Regions from separate parts of the Homo sapiens genome. Here region 1 is linked to region 2. Evidence: promoter capture Hi-C in human tissues and cell types (Jung and others, 2019). All regions are on one chromosome and are shown on one strand. Each heading gives the region's core, a stretch centred on a gene start or on the middle of the fragment in contact. The rest is flanking DNA. Distances are from core to core; before and after follow the strand shown. Region 1 overlaps ZNF407 (zinc finger protein 407). Region 2 holds the start of ZNF516 (zinc finger protein 516).

What was found. The method cuts DNA at HindIII sites, captures the fragments that hold promoters and counts their contacts. A contact is called where the count stands out against the background at its distance.
Region 1: a contact is called between a fragment that was not itself captured here and the fragment with the promoter of ZNF516 in region 2, in 1 of the 25 tissues and cell types used here (dorsolateral prefrontal cortex).

The regions. Positions count from the first base shown.
Region 1 is chr18:74,782,817-74,786,500 of GRCh38, reverse strand. The region is part of intron 4 of ZNF407 (zinc finger protein 407); the gene reads right to left. Among named protein-coding and RNA genes, the nearest start is that of ZNF407, 190 kb to the right of the region's middle. The HindIII fragment of the contact is 4,029 bases long and covers 1-3,684 here.
Region 2 is chr18:76,493,729-76,497,364 of GRCh38, reverse strand. ZNF516 (zinc finger protein 516) reads left to right here and starts at 2,123. Exons shown (of 7, transcript NM_014643.4): 1 at 2,123-2,221. ZNF516-DT (ZNF516 divergent transcript) reads right to left here and starts at 2,026. Exons shown (of 2, transcript NR_164145.1): 1 at 1,579-2,026; 2 at 1-1,086. It overlaps ZNF516-AS1 (ZNF516 antisense RNA 1), which reads right to left. Exons shown (of 2, transcript NR_136504.1): 2 at 3,447-3,636. RefSeq lists silencers at 2,014-2,073, 2,204-2,303, 3,004-3,093. The HindIII fragment of the contact is 9,582 bases long and covers 1-3,636 here.

The DNA of each region.
Region 1 (3,684 bases), core at 497-2,996, 1.7 Mb after region 2:
ATTGGCCATCATGGGGAAAAAAAAAAGAAAAAGAAAAAATATTGCTAACTATGGAAAAAAAATAAGAAATAAGGGAAAGACTAATAAGTAGTGGGTAAAGGGGAGAGCCTGAAGCCTGGACACAGAGGTGACTGAAAAGTTTCATAAAAAATATTCCAGAAGGAGCCCATGAAGAATATATCAGAGAGAAGAAACTATCACAACACATCCATTAGAATAAATCACCCATTTCAATGATAAAATGGATAACAGTATTTACCTTATAGAAACTCACTATGGAGGAATAGAGGAAAACTGTTTTCCCTTTAATAAAATGAAATATATGCAACAAGAACAACTTAGAAGTTATTTCTTTAAGGTGGAAAACAGTGACAACTGTGACGTCGGAGGTCAGTCATATATGATGAATAGAATATCTTCTAATAAGAAAAAATTTAATCTGTTCCCCAATAATTTCCTCAGGGTTTCTATAAACGCATGGCTTTTCTCATATAACATCATCTAAGCTTGTAAACAACCCTGTGAAGCATCAGTCACAACTGCACACATCATGTGTGCCATGTGAGTGACATCGTGTGTGCCATGTGACATGTGTGTCCCATGTGAGTGCCATGTGCGTGCCATGTGAGTGACGTGTGTGCCATGTGGGCCATGTGCATGCCATGTGAGTGACATGTGCATGCCATGTACATGCTGTGTGTGCCATGTGGGTGACATGTGTGTGCCATGTGAGTGACATCTGCATGCCAGGTGCATGCCAGGTGCATGCGCTTTTCCACAGATGCTGCTGTTTCAGATATTTTCATGTTTCATAAAAAAAAGGTGACGCTCCTGTGTAAACTTGAAAAATAGCAATGATGCTTTTATGCCACTTCAACTTATAAATATGCAAGTTTTTGAGAAAATAGAGAAAAAGGAGAGAAAAGAGTCTCCAAAAGACCCATACAATGCCATGTCCTATTATACTGGCTTCAAATAAATTAGAATAAGCATCAGGGCTCTGAGACATCTCTCCGCAATTACATTAGGTGGGGTAAAGATTTGACTCATCAATAAGATCAATGGTGCTGCTAAAAGAAAGACAGCTAACCCCATATCCCAAATGTCTCATAAAAGGGGAGAGGCCAGCACAAATTTCAGGGCTCAGTAATCTGGAGGACCCCAGAGGAAATCTTAGCCTGAGCAAAAATACTAAGAAGCCCTGAGCCAAATCCAGTAGCCTGAACACACCCAACAGCTATGCTAACAAAAATGCACTGAGGGTAAGAAACTTCACAGACTCCGACAAAAATGGCTGCACTGGAAGAAATACGTAAGGTTTTGATCTGAATATTCACCAGTAAAAACACAAGTACTTTTCCTGGGTTATGAAATTATTTAACGCTTATACTTTATGACACACGCATCTAATTTAAAATTCTTCTTTGGTAGTTTTCTGAGTTTATCAGCCTTCTTGAGATGCTGCCAGTGCAGATATGTCCTGACAGCATCTCTGACACCACAAAAGCAATGGATCAAATGCAAAGCTCTACACGAATCATTTCCCTGTCCTCCTATTTACACAGTCATTCAAAACCCAGCTGATTTCCAGCACTGAACGACGAATACCATCCACTTCCATTGTAATTGCACCTGGCTTTCACAGAAGATATACTTAGTATGGCTGTTCCAATTGTGATAATTGTAGATAAGCTCGTTTTCTAGATTACTATTAGTCAATTCAAAGAGTCATAAAGATGCTTTGGCTTACTTATACCACAAAGAGAATTACTCATTTAAAATAGCGAATACTTTCAAATGAACTTGCAAGTTAACTGGAGTTTATTATTTTAGAATGTGAACTGAATGTGGTTATATGTAATTGTTTGAATTTAAGTGTGTAGGATTTCAGAAATACTGTAGGATACTGCACTAAAATAATTTAATGCAGATGTAGGAACAAAAAAGTATAATCTTACACAAGCCATCACCTCAGGTGTTCACAGAGTCTCAAAGAAAATATTTGAAATAATTTAGTTTTCTGTTTCTAATGATAGCCATGCTGACAAAATTTATTGGATCATCAAACATTATAGTACAAGTATATGGATTTATTTTTAATAAATTATAATTTTTGCATATATCAGTCAAAGCACAAGGCCTAAATACTTGCAAACAAAATGCATTATTAATTTAATTGTCACAGCCTATTTAGCTAACTTCTATTACTATTTGCTATAATATGCAATGCATTAGAATGGAGAATCAAATTAAAAACATTTTTTAAAACTGATTATACTGTCCTGGAGAAATTAAAATACAGCAAGCTTGCAAAAGTATAACCAAGGCTTTAATGTTTTAAATAGGTAAGAAAAATATTTAACTTAATTTAGAGAACAGTTGTGCCCAGACTGATGGTCCAGCATACTGACGAAGGGTTTGCTTCCTAAAACCACTAGAAGGAAGGGAGGAAGGTGAAATGGAAACAAGGAGACTGGCATTTCTGCTTCTAGATTATACCATTGAAATCTTGGTTTGCTCTAGCTACAGGTGTCTACTGGAAAATTATACTGCTGCTGGGGTCCTGGCATTCCTGTGTAGTATTTCTCTGTAACAGGAGAGAGTGCCATATAAGCAGACGTCAAAAACAAGAAGTCCTCTCAAAGAATTTTTAAAAGGAAAAACAATTCAGTCAAAGACGTTTGGTTTAGAAGAATGTTGCTGCTTGAAGTACTTAAAAGGTACTGATCCAGAAGGTGGGTGTGCTTTCCCACTTGCGATTTTCTTGATGTTAGGACAAAAACAGTGTCAATATCTGAGAAGGGCTTACCATGTGTCAGAGGGGAGAAATTCAATCTTTCTCCTGCCTCAGTTTTAATCTCCCTTTATGTATTCAGGACAGAAATAAATATTAAAGAAAAGAAAAAGTATCCTAGAATGTAACGAAAAGGGTAAATGAAAAAAAAAAACAGTAAATTTTTGATTCTCAAATTCGTAATATATAGAGGATTTCTAGCATTTTAAGGTGTTTAATACATGAACATATATACATACATGCACATATATGGGGAGATCAACTTTTCCCTGTGAAACAATATGAACAATTCTTCAACTTTTAAAAAAATTTCTAAGTAAAAACCAAAATGATGTAGTTAAATTAAAAATATATACTATTTAAAAGTACAGTTGGGAAATATTTTCTTCTTACTACACAATCTCCACTGTTTTCATTCAAATTTATTTTGAAATCAGAGTCAGAAAAGTAACAGTTCCATCATTTATTATTTATGAGATATTGAATAAATTATTATTGTATTTTCTAGGCTCAGTCCTTAGATCTATAAAACTGGAATAATAATGTACTGCTAATAAGGTCAAAGAAGGACTGAGATAATGCATGTGAAAGCAATGAAAACATAGCAATTACAAATATGTTCTGTTTCTACATACTTAAACAACACTTATGAAACATAACTTTGACATGTCGCAAATTATTCTTTTAAAAATATAGTATAGTATGCTTTTAAATTTCAAGAATAATGCATCCCTGACACATTCAATGCATGTATTTTTGCTGCAATTATTAAATACAATGTTACAAAGAAAGATAAGGGAAATAGGCCGGGCACGGTCGCTCAAGCCTGTAATCCCAGCACTTTGGGATCACGAGATTAGGAGATTGAGACCATCCTGGCCAACACAGTG
Region 2 (3,636 bases), core at 874-3,373:
TCCAGCTGCCATTTTCTAGGTCTGCCACACCAGACACCAGGACTTAACTCTTTGCCCATCCATCAAATTACGCTCTCAGATTTCGCATGCACTGTAGATAAACGTGTAAGAAAGGAAATGGTTTAAAAGCACAATATTATTGTAGACAGACAATGCCCTGAGTGAAATCACATGTGGGTGACTTAAGACAGGGCCCTAAACCGGCTAGAAAAAGGAAGCAAGTCATGAACAGTTTTATGTGGAGGGGTTTGGAAGTCTTGATCACCATTCAATGATCTACCTTGTCCATTTTCAACACATGGAAATTGTTAGCGCAAGTTTGTACTTTAAAATAGACCCAAGAATGCAGATGAACGTAGGTTTACAGGACTGATATTCATTCCAAAATCCTACCAAAAAGCTATTAAAGTGTCTTCAAATTTTAATCTTTGTTGTTACCTACATGTATGTAATAATATGTGTATACAAGGACATTTACGGCTTTGTAATTAACTGAATTTGGGGATACTTTCTTTGTGCATTTTCACAGTGTACTGAAATGAATGGTGGGCACGTCAATACTTTTCGGTGAATCAGACTTAAACGTGATTGCTGAAGAATACATCCCACTTAGGCATTCATGCTGAAGCCAGCAACAATTGTCCGTGACCTTTAACATGCCCGCTCTCCAAATCAGTGCAGGTCGTTAGTCACACGGAGCTTACATTTGAGGACTCGCGGATCCTTCATAGCGGAGGTTGTCCCTGTCTTTCTGCCTGACTCCCCCCCGCCCCCCGACCCCGACACACACTCCCCACCGCCCCCAGAAACATCACACATGCAGAATGCCCCCCCCGTCTGATCGCCAGCTTTCGGGCACATGCGCCTCCCTTTGCAGCGCGTCTGGAGTAGTTTCTTTTGTAAACGCCCTAAGTTGGGGAGGGCCGCGGGCTGCGAGTGTGAGGCGCAGAGAGAGACGCCGCCGCTGAGGTAACCGCCAGGATTGCAGCGCTGATTGCTACGCGGAGCCACGTTGGGCGTCTTGGACGGAATCCACCTCCACTGCGGAGTTATCACGAGGAGAAGGAGAACAATACGGCCAGGAGCCTGGTGGGAGAAGATAGTGTTACCCCTCCGCAGGCCGCAGCTCCCCGGGTCTACGTCACCGGCCGTGAAGGGGCGCTCGCCCTCGCTAGCTCCGACCCGCCCCTCCCCCGCCCCCGCGCGCCCGCCCTCCCCTCCCCCACCCCGGCCATCCCTGCCCTGTAACAGGAGAGCGTTTTGGAGTCAAATTAGGATTTCTAGTCCCAGACTCAACTTATTACAACTAACTACTGCTCGTGGGGAGTAGGTGAGGTGAAGAAATGAAGTTTTAAGAACAGAAAAATAAGAGTTGAACTTTCGAGGCTACCGGTAAACAACCCCTTCATTTTTAAATGGCCGGGTGGCAGAGCCGCTGTTTGAAGTCTTTCCAGCGGGACCTCTGTGACCCTTGATTCAGGACTTAATGTATTGATCCTGCATCTGAACACCCCCAGAGGCATTTACCAGGAAGTTGAGTGACACGCACACGCTACGCCGTGTGTAATGCACACGCACCTGGGACCCCCGAAGGGGTGTCCCCATTTCAGTCCAGATGGGGCGCAGTGCCCAGGTACCCGCCGGCGGGACCCGCATCCCGAGCACGTCTGTACGTATGGATGCGCGTGTGCGCGCGGAAACGGCCTCCGGGAGCCGGGGCTGCAGCAGCCTTAGACCTTGACGAGGGGCGACCACTGGCCGCTGGAACCGTGATTCAGTGCTATTAGGGGAGGAATTGGCTGTGTCTGAGTCACTGCAAGCCTCCAGACTGTCCCCTCAGTGTGGCAGAACTTTGTGCTGATGAGACAATAGTGGAGTGTGCGTTTCCTACAGGGCAGACCATTTCCAGGCTGGGGGAAGCCTCCGGCCTGCGCCGGGCCGTGAGCGCCCGGCCCCCTCCCCGTGCCGCGCAGCCCCCCGAGCCCGGCTCGCGCCGGGGCCCCCGCGGGGCGGACGCGTCCGGGGCGCGCGCGGGCGGCGCGAGGAGGGGGCCGGGCGCGTGGCGGGCCCCGCGCGCCCTCGCGCGTCCCCCGCGCCCGGGCGCAGCTGGCGCGGTCGGTCTAGTGCAGCGCTCGGCTCCGCGCCGCGGGCGCTCGGCTTCACCTTCAGATGCGCGGGGCGTGCGCGTCCTCCTCCCCAGGCCCGCCGCCTCCCTGCCAAGGTAGGGGCCGCGGGCGGGGGGAGGGCTGCGCCGCAGGGGCCGCGGGCGGGCGGTGGGCGCGGGGCCCGGAGCCCCGACGTGCCCCGTACTCTGGTGTGCGCCGCTGGGGGTAGGGGGGGAGGCGCTGGGGAGGGGGGTGCGCCGGGGAGGGGCCCCCCGGGCGCGGGGAGGGCTACTTGGCTTTCCCGGTGGGTAGTTGCTCTGCTCGTCAATTCCAGGATAGGGGAAGATGCAACTTCGGGCGGCGGGGCGAGCGCCCGGGAGGTGGTTTTTACCGCAGTGGAGGGGCGGGGTGGGGGCCGGGGTGGGAGCGCGGAAGAGGCTCTGGCTTTGTACACTTTGTCAAAGGCGACGCGGGAGGAGGGGAGCTCGGATGCGCTCTCCATCCATTAGGAGACAAAGAGCAAATTGCCTTACTTTAAAGTAAAACGCTCCGGCTAATGAAGGTGGGTGATGGGGCTGCGGGCCCGAGGAGCCGCTTCAATTATTAAGGGTTTGGCGGATGGGATCGATGCCTGTGGGCACCGCGCGCTGCTGCCTAGGGGACGTGTTTGCGTGGAGGTGGGGGTGGCCTTGTTTTTTACGGCCCCCTCCCCGGCTGCTTGCCAGTCTGCTGGGAGCTTCTAAGTGACCCTAACGTTAAAGAAGTGAGAGGTCCTGGAAGGGAAGTTCGGGCGGGGGTGGGGGTGGGGGCGAGGGTCTGGCACCGACTCGGAGAGGGGTGGGCAGGGACTCCTCGGAGCTGCGCCCCGCCGGGTGCGGGTGGGGGAGGCCTCGGTGGCGAGATGAACCCGGGTGTATGAAGGAAGAATGCGGTGGGGTGTGTGTGGTTGGGCGGGAGGTGGGGGGAGGCGCCTCCGCTGCCATTTCCAGGGAGAACTAACAGACTGAATAGTTACGATCAGTATTTAGATTAAACCGCCTCAAGTTTTAACGAAACTTTGTATGAATAAGTTTGTTAAATGGCAGCCGAGTGGGGTATTTAAAAGCAGCAGTTTATGTGTGTGGTGAGGAAAGCCAGTGGACCCCCGCAATTAGGGACCAGAGGGAACCAGCCTTTTACCCGAAAAATGTGGGTCTGTAAGTCAGCCTCATCTATTATCAGCGTTAATAAGCTTCCCGCAGCAGACCGGGAGCTCTGGGGGCTGTGTGTGTGTCTTACTCATTCCGCTGATAAAGAGTCACCGGGTCTCCGGGTGTGCAAAGATCAACTTGCGCAGCCCTCTTTTTAAATATATTCATTCTGTGCTTTATTTAATCCAGATGCACAAAAAGCCATTTGCTGCTGCATTGTTGGTTTACATTTTTTGAAAAGGCGACTGGTGTAACCTGTGGAATTTGAAATGCAAATAAGAGCCTGTGGGAGTAGAGGCAGAACAGATCAGCATTTATAAAGTGGAAAAGATTTAATGTCT